Linked DNA regions of Homo sapiens: regions 2 and 3 are each linked to region 1. Evidence: promoter capture Hi-C in human tissues and cell types (Jung and others, 2019). All regions are on one chromosome and are shown on one strand. Each heading gives the region's core, a stretch centred on a gene start or on the middle of the fragment in contact. The rest is flanking DNA. Distances are from core to core; before and after follow the strand shown. Region 1 holds the start of ALDH3A1 (aldehyde dehydrogenase 3 family member A1). Region 2 overlaps ULK2 (unc-51 like autophagy activating kinase 2). Region 3 overlaps SLC47A2 (solute carrier family 47 member 2).

Region 1 (3,108 bases), core at 411-2,910:
CGTGTGCGTGTGTGTGCATGTGTGTGTGTGCGTGTGTGTGCATGTGCGTGTGTGTGTGCGTGCGTGTGTGTGCATGTGCGTGTGTGTGCGCGCGTGTGCGTGTGTGTGTGGGCGTGCACGCTCTAACATGCAAGAAAGGACTAGAACGGTAGCCCCCGACACGATGAGACAACTGATGGGGGTGGAATTATTGATGATCTGTTTTCCTCTTATGCAATGTTTGACTTTTTGCAATGAGCTTGTATTTTTTAAATTTTGGTGCGTTTTAAGATAGGCACTACATGCTCATGAAACAAAATGTAAAATATAGCAAAGGGGCACAGAAAAAAGTCTGCCTCCCTCCTCCCTGCTCCATCAGCTGTCAGGTGCTGCCCCACAGAGGGGCCACTGTTACCAGTTCCTTACTCCCCTTCCTGAGATACTCAGCCCACTTGCAGACCCGGCATAACTTTTAACATCAGCAGAAATAGGGTATTTCCATTTTTTTAAAAAACCCTATATATCATATGTAATATATAATTATATTGTATATAGATATATGGTCCTGCCTACATTCCAGCGAGTGGCTTCCAATCCTTCCTCTGCCTCCCCTCCCCATAGGCTGACCCCTAATCCCAGGCTTTCTGCACAGGGAGGAGGGACCTGCTGGCATTGAGGGTGCTCTAAGCCTGGCCCTTCCATGGTCCCTCCCTATGTTCTGATAGGAGGCTGGGAAAGCCCCCTCACTGGGACCTCCTCAGTCCCATGGGCCAGGCCCCTCCTGCTGACCACAACCCAGGAGAGAAGGTCCCGCTTCTCTCCCGAGCCTTGTACGGTCAAACCAAGGCAGGCAGCCCAGGTGGGAAGAGCCTGGTGAGCGTGGGACGGGATTGGCCTTGCACCCCAGCATCGCCACTTGGAACTGTGGTCTCTGGGCTGGACGGCCTTCCCAGGACTTCCCCGAGAGACAGGTTAACAAAGGTGCCACTTCACAGAGATGAGTGGACACCATCACGTCGCAGCTGCACCCAAATGGGAGCTGCTGCAGCATGCACTGGGGGCCTCCCCAGAGCCCGTCGCCTCACACCCCACATTCCTGCACCCCGCTCCTCTCACCTGTGCCAGTGTTGACTTTGCCCCCCAGTGACACCTCCTCCCCTCCTCATTGCCTTCCATCCTCACAAAAGCTCTGTAGTGATGCCCATGAAGAAGAAACGGTTATGAGTGCATTTTACAGATGAGGAAAGGGAGACTGAGAAACGTTTAATGCTGTATCTGATCTCACAGTTAGCAGGTGGCATGTCAGGGTTTGAACCCACATGCATCTCTGTCAGCAGCTCATGCCTTTAGCACTCGGCTCTGCTGCCTTCCTTCCAGTCATGGAGTCTGACGGCCCATCAGGGCCTCTCACTCCACGGCCACCTTGGTGTCCCTGCTCCGCGGATCCCTGGGACCTCTGCCTCCTGGTTTGGGGGATGGCAGAGCTGCCAGAGGTCCAGGAGGATGCTCCAGAGATGATGGTCCCAGAGGCAGGGACCCCCTGGAGAGATGATGTAGGACTCTTGACACTTAGGGCCCCGGCTCTGAGTGCAGACTCCACCTAGACAAGAGAAAAAATAAGGAATGCAGGGAAGAGGATTACCTTTGACACAGCCTCTCCCGGTAACTGGGGCTCCTGGAACGGCAAGAGCCAAGAGGGGACGTATTTAAGGACCCTGCTTCCCGTCCATTGAGCCCTTGGAGTTCCTGCCCAGGAAGTTTGCGTGACAAGAAAAAAAAATATTCAAATGTGGGGTGTGGCGTCCTCTGGACCTCTGCTCCCTACAGCCCAGGTTTTGGGGATTAGGTCCCGGGCTGTTTGCTTTTGTTCACTTCTGAAATGCGAGAATGTTTCTGAAGGCTTGGGCAGGGCACATCTCCAATCTTCAAAAGAGCCTATGTTTGCCCTGGGCGTGGGGGCTGCTGATTGATTCAGCCTGGCATGGAGCTCTTCCAGCTTTCCAGACTTGCCGCTGCCAGATGCGGTTCTCTGAGTTCTCTGGTTACATAAGATCGGCAGGGCTCAGCCACGAACCACAGTGAGAGCATGCAGCTCCCCCGAAACGCACCCCCAGCCACCGCTGCCCCGGGCCCTTCACATCCCCCAGTGTGCACAGGGCCCCATTGAGTCAGAGATCCTAACCCTGGGGAGCCACAGGCTGGGGACTTTTGATGGGGGTCTCCAATCCATAAATCTGCTCTCTCGTTGAATAGCTGAGAAGAGGGCCAAGGGTCTGTGTGGTCACCGAAAACCAGAGATGCTTGGGAAGGAAGGAGTCTGGAAAAGCCGTTCCCACGCTGTCTGATCAATGTTCGCTGGGCTCCTGCTCTGCACCACGCTGTGGGGAGGAGGCAGGTGTGGAACAGACTCTCGGCCCCTCTCACCAGGCGCTTCCCGCCACCCTCACCCGCCTGCAGGCAGACTGCTTACCAGCATGGGGTCCCTGCTTCCCATTTCATTCGAGGAAAACACAAGGTTCCGGTCCTGGCCTACGAGTCCTGAGGATGTGCTCTGGCCCTCCTGCTTCTCTCCACCTGGAGCCCCCTTCCCCTACATCCACCCACACGGCTACGCTCCAATGTGCTGTGGAAAATAGCACAATGCTGTCGTCTTCCTCCATTATTTTTTCTCTGGAGCGTTTATATCTTGTTTGCTACCTGTCCCTTAACTCCTGACAGCTAGAATTTGATTTGTTCACTGCTGTAACCTCCATACAGCATTTATAGTAGATGCTCAATAAATATTTATTGACTGACAAAATAAACAGGAAATTTCAAAATAATGTGAACACTGTAGTAACCAGGTAGGCAGAGGATGCTAGAGGGGCTGGGGTGAGAGTCCGTGGGAGGGAACATCATCTGAGCTGAGTGAGAAGCATTTGGGCAAGGAACAGCAAGGGGGCTGGAAGAGCAGAAGCAAAGGCACAGAGGCTGGGAACGTTATGTCACGAAAAAGTGCGATGTGTCCACTGTTGCCAGCAGGAGGTGTGGAGGTGAATGACTCTCCTGGGGCGGGGGCTCACGGAGGCCTGTGGGCCAGGCTGGCTGTGGGGGTGCAGGGCGCTGAGGAGATTATCAGACAGACAAATG
Region 2 (3,060 bases), core at 120-2,619, 35 kb after region 1:
TACATATAGGCATAAGCTACTGCGACCAGCCCTCCTTAATTTCTTAATGCACAAGTAAACTCTCAAGGGACAAGGCATAGTTAAAGATGTGTGTACTGTGAAAATAACGGATACACTCAGATAAAAATCAATACAATCTATTTACACAAAAGAACTTCAACAGTATAATTTACAAGGAAAGGCAACACTGAGGTTGCATAATCTCCAGGTCTTGGCTCATATAGTGAAATGTAGTACAAAGAAATAATTGAGACTCCTAGCTTTTAATAATGAGATATGATCTTCAGTGGATGACAATACCTACAACTTAGACACAAGTTTAGACAAAGCATGAAAAGTCTGGAAATGAATGACAAGGGGGCACCCACCCCCAGTCTTTGCTCAGCTGACTGATCTGGTCCACCACCACACTCTCCTGGATCTGGTACAAGGACACAGCAGATGTGCACAGCTCAGGGTTTCCTCCCCTCATGGCTGTCAGGTCCAGCACACACTCAGTGAACATCAGCATCACATTCAGATGGCGTAAGGTGTCTGTGTGTTCCCGCTGCAGCAAAGTCAATTTGTCTTAGAAAATTTCAGATTAAAAATACGTACATACTCATTTCTGTACATAAACCATGGCCGCTGATCATGTTTTCTATACTTATGAGTATCAGAATGACAAAAGGAGATTGAAATTTTTAAATTTCAGAAAGCTGGTAAGAAAATGAACACAAATGAAACCAAATATAGGTATATGCATGTGTTTGTGTATGTGTATCAGAGTACCCACATAAGTAAACTCAGGATGGGTCGCTGTGCTTTTACCAGAAAAAGAAAAGAAAGCTGAACGATTAAATCAATATACATGAGACAAAAACGTGACAAGGTAGACACAAAGATTACAAGGATACTATAGGTGCTAAATCACACTTCTTGATACTGTATTGAATTCTGCTGACTTCTTATAATTTCAGAGTTGCTTTATTTAATTTCTGGTCGTTTTTCAGTTAACAGTGATTACTAATACCAAAGCTCTAACTTTCTGTGATCTTTTCAGTTAGTTAAAGAGGGGAGTGTGGGTAGACATAACAGCATTCAGAGGGCTGTCATTTAAAAATGGGCATTCTAGGCCGGGCATGGTGGCTCATGCCTGTAATCCAAGCACTTTGGGAGGCCAAGGCGGGTGGATCACCTGAGGTCAGGAGTTTGAGACCAGCCTGGCCAACATGGCGAAATCCCGTCTCTACTAAAAATACAAAAATTAGCTGGGCGTGGTGGCATGTGCCTGTAGTCCCAGCTCCTCAGGAAGCTGAGGCAGGAGAGTGGCTTGAACCCAGGAGGTGGAAGTTAGAGTGAGCTGAGATCGCACCACTGCATTCCAACCTGGGTGACAGAGCAAGACTCTGTCTCAAATAAACAAACAAACAAACAAACAAATAAATAAATAAATAAATGGGTATTCTAGATTGTTGTTTTGAGATTTGTTTTTAGTTATAAATGCATTCTGAAATCTCAAGCCTAAAAGTTTCCCACTCTTTTATGGTTAAATAAAGATGAGAATCATTTTCCTAGTGACAGGAGAATAAGCCAATTGACTTCTAAAAGTCTCTCTGCTCTGTGACAGCATATTGCACTGTATGTTTCAATACACTGGAACATGCAATAGAATGTACTAGAATGCTCACGCCTGTAATCCTAGCACTTTGGGAGGCAGAGGTGGGCAGATCACAAGGTCAGGAGTTCGAGACCCGCCTGGCCAACATGGTGAAACCCCGTCTCTACTAAAAATACAAAAATTAGCCGGGCATGGTGGCGTGTGCCTGTAATCCCAGCTACTCGTGGGGGCTGAGGCAGGAGAATTGCTTGAACCCAGGAGGCAGAGGTGGGAGTGAGCCGAGATTGCACCACTGCACTCCAGCCTGGGTGACAGAGCAAGACTCTGTCTCAAAAAAAAAGAAAGAAAGAAAAACACAGAATCTATGTGTTTCTTCCTATAAACCAAAGCTTATTATGGATGAGTGTCACTGTCAATGTTAATTTAAAAAGACATCAGCAATACTTTTCAAACAGAAAAGGCACGTTAAAGAGAACATAACTTCCTAACTATTTAATGTATTTTGTTCTTGTCATCACTAGAATGTTCTCATATCAAATCAACATTACATTCACACCACTATAGTCTCTTTTCTACCTCCATCAGCGTCTCCTCCGGCAGTTCAGGGGCTTCAAAGGTGATGAGCCCCTCTAGGCTGGGGGGTGAAGCACCGTAAGGCACGTATCTCAGGCTGGGAGCTGCCTCTGCTCCTGGAGGGGAAGAGCCGAAGCCTGGGCCAGGCGGGGACCCCACGCACACGCGGCCACTCATGGCACAAAGAGAGCCCCCGGAGTTGCTGGGCCCCACTACAAGGAAACAGAGGATACATGGCAGTGTCCAGAGTTAGGGCTTTCACACCCACTCCTACTCTTATTTACTAAACAAACCTGCTGAGGTGACAAAGGAAAGTTTCGTTAAAAGAAACTCACTGACCCCCTATGTACTATTTGAGGATATTAATAGTTTTTACTTATCCATGTTCATTGTTATTCCTTGTCTATATATTTTATATTAGACATCATCAGAGCTAGTTTTTTTATACTCTGTTTTAAACAAATTTAGATCATATTCATTTCTCCTTGCTGCTCCACAGGGCCTCATAATTATAAAACTCAATGGATGCACTGATTCATTAAATTTATATATATTATATAATGTTTATCTGGAGTCATTTATACTATTTCTGATTTTATTCATATTACAAATAGCACTGTAATGAAATGCAGACAGTTGTTCCTTCTTTTGAATAATTTCTTTGTGATAAATACTCTGAAGTGGTATAAGAAGGAATGGAATTAGCATAGATCAATAAATATTTTTACAGCTCTTCCTAAGAACTGTTATAGTACTCTCTAACGCAGCCCTGAGTAAGCACATAGATCCTACTAAACCTCAATAACACTGGACATGATACTTTTTTTTTTTTTTTTTTTTTTTTTTTTTTGAGTCAGGGTCTTGCTGTTGCGCAGGCTGAATTGCAG
Region 3 (2,777 bases), core at 202-2,701, 53 kb before region 1:
AGTGGCTTACACCTGTAAACCCAGCACTTTGGGAGGCTGAGGAGGGTGGATCACCTTAGGTCAGGAGTTGGAGACCACCCTGGCCAATGGTGAAACCCCGTCTCTACTAAAAATAATAATAATAATAATAATAATAAATAAATAAAAATTAGCCAGGCACGGAGTTGCGTGCCTGTAGTCCCAGCTACTTGGGAGGCTGAGGCAGGAGACTCGCTTGAACTTGGGAGGCGGAGCTTGCAGTGAGCCAAGATCGCGCCATTGCTCTCTAGCCTGGGCGACAGAGCGAGACTCCGTCTCAGAACAAAACAAAACAACATTGTATTGGAGGTTCTCCCCAAATTGGAAAGCAGAAGTAAAAGTGTCTATTCACAGATGACATGATCCTACATGTAGAAAATCTTAAGGAGCTCAGACACACAAACTATTAGAACAAGGTCACAGGATAAAGGATCAATAATCAAAAAATCAATTGATTTTTTATAAACATGAACAATCTAAAATGAAATTAAGAAAACAATTTCATTCACAGTAGCATCCAAAGAATAAAATTCTTTGGGATAAATTTAACAAAAGAAGTATAAGATTTGTCCATTGAAGACTATAAAACATTGCCGAGATAAAGAAGTTCTAAATAACTAGAGACATTCTGTGCCCATGGATTGGAGGCCTCAATATTGTTAAGATGACAGTTCTGTCCAAATTGATCTATAGATTCAACACAATTCTTTTCAAAATCTCAGCATGCTTTTTAGTAGGAATTGATAAGCTGATTCTAAAATACATACAAAAATGCAAAGGACCTAAAAGAGTCAAAAGAGTTTGGGGACAGAAAAGAACAGTTGGTATATTAATAGTACCTGATTACAAAACTCCCTGTAAAGCTACAGTAATTAAGACTGTCACAATGGCATAGCATAGACATAAATCAATGGAACGGAATTGTGAATTCAGAAGTAAACCACTACATTTATGGTCAGTTGATTTTCAACTGTGTTTCCAAGAAACTTAGTACTGGAGAAATGAGTCTTTCATGTGCTAACAAATGGTGCCAGGACAATTGGATATCCATATGTAAAAAATGAATTTAAACCCTTACCTCATATTATACACAAAAATGAACTAAAAATGGATCAGAGGCCAGGCGCTGTGGCTCACACCTGTAATCCCAGCACTTTGGGAGGCCAAGGCGGGTGGATCACGAGGTCAGGAATTCGAAACCAGCCTGGCCAACATGGTGAAACCCCATCTCTACTAAAAATACAAAAATTAGCCGGACGAGGTGGCACACACCTGTAGTCCCAGCTACTCAGGAGGCTGAGGCAGAAGAATCGCTTGAACCCGGGAGGCAGAGGTTGCAGTGAGCCCAGATTGTGCCACTGCACTCCAGCCCGGGTAAAAGAGCAAGACTCCATCTCAAAAAAAAAAAAAAAAGGATCATAAACCTAAATGTAAGAAAGACTTAACATTAAAACTTTTTAAAGAAAACAGAGGAGAAAATCTTTGTGACCTTGGGTTAGGCAGAGTTCTTATATATAAAATAGCAAAAGCATGAGCCATAAAAGAAATTAAGAAATTGGACTACATTGAAAGTGAAAACTTTTGCAACTCAAAAGATACCATTAAGAAAATGATTCAGTTAGACAGGAAGAAAAAGTTTAAGAGACCTACTGTACAACATGTTAACTATTGTATACTTGAAAATTGGTAATAGTATATTTTAAATGTTCTCACCACAAGAAAATTAGAATTATGTAAGGTAATGCATATGTTAATTAGCTTGATTTAGCCATTTCACAATGTCTAAACATAGTGAAATGTTTACATATATACAAACATAGTGGCTGGGTGCATTGGCTCATGCCTGTAATCCCAGCACTTTGGGAGGCTGAGGTGGGAGAATGGTCTGAGCCCAGGAGTTCTGTAGTGAGCTATGATGGTGCCAACTGCACTCCAGCCTGGGCAACAGAGTGAGACCTGTCTTAAAAAAAAAACAAAGAACAAAAAAAAAAAACAGCAAAAAAAAAAAAAAGAAAAAATGTATACCATAAATATATTTATCTGTGAATTTAAAAAATAAAATTTAATTTAAAAAGATAAGCCACAGCCTGGGTTTGCAAATCATAAAGCTTGATAAAGGACTTGTATCCAGAATATATAAAGAACTCTTATAACTAATAATAAATGTTATGGGTTGAATTGTGTCTCCCACAAAAGATACTGAAATTCCTTTTTTTTTTTTTAAGGTGGAGTTTCGCTCTTGTCATCTAGGCTGGTGTGTAATGGCACAACCTTGGCTCACTACAACTTCCACCTCCCAGGTTCAAGCAATTTTCCTGCCTCAGCCTCCTGAGTAGCTGGGATTACAGGTGTGTGCCATCACGCCCAGCTAATTTTTGTATTATTAGTAGAGATGGGGGTTTCACCATTTTGGCCAGGCTGGTCTTGAACTCCTGACCTCAGGTGATCTGCCACCTCAGCCTCCCTAAGTGCTGCGATTACAGGTGTGAGCCACTGTGTCTGGCCAAAAGATGTTGAAATTCTAACTCTCAGTACCTGTGAATGTTACCTTATTTGGAAATAAGGCCTTTGCTGATGATCAAGTTAAGATGGAGTCATTAAGGTAGGCCCTAATCCAATATGACTGGTGTCCTTATTAAAAGAGGGAATTTGGGCCTGGTGCGGTGGCTCACACCTGTAATCCCAGCACTTTGGGAGGCCGAGGTGGGCAGATCATGAGATCAGGAGATCAAGACCATCCTGGCCAACATGGTGAAACC

Evidence for each region. Contacts are between HindIII fragments. The study calls those that stand out against the background at their distance.
Region 2: a fragment that was not itself captured here is called in contact with the fragment with the promoter of ALDH3A1 in region 1 in 4 of the 25 tissues and cell types used here (bladder, mesendoderm cells, pancreas and 1 more).
Region 3: a contact is called between a fragment that was not itself captured here and the fragment with the promoter of ALDH3A1 in region 1, in 3 of the 25 tissues and cell types used here (heart right ventricle, liver and spleen).

The regions. Positions count from the first base shown.
Region 1 is chr17:19,746,638-19,749,745 of GRCh38, forward strand. ALDH3A1 (aldehyde dehydrogenase 3 family member A1) reads right to left here and starts at 1,661. Exons shown (of 11, transcript NM_000691.5): 1 at 1,622-1,661. The HindIII fragment of the contact is 25,713 bases long and covers 1-3,108 here.
Region 2 is chr17:19,781,521-19,784,580 of GRCh38, forward strand. It overlaps ULK2 (unc-51 like autophagy activating kinase 2), which reads right to left. Exons shown (of 27, transcript NM_014683.4): 22 at 2,177-2,385; 23 at 369-547. Among named protein-coding and RNA genes, the nearest start is that of ALDH3A1, 35 kb to the left of the region's middle. The HindIII fragment of the contact is 9,613 bases long and covers 1-3,060 here.
Region 3 is chr17:19,693,501-19,696,277 of GRCh38, forward strand. All of the region lies in intron 13 of SLC47A2 (solute carrier family 47 member 2), which reads right to left. Among named protein-coding and RNA genes, the nearest start is that of SLC47A2, 22 kb to the right of the region's middle. The HindIII fragment of the contact is 3,834 bases long and covers 1-2,777 here.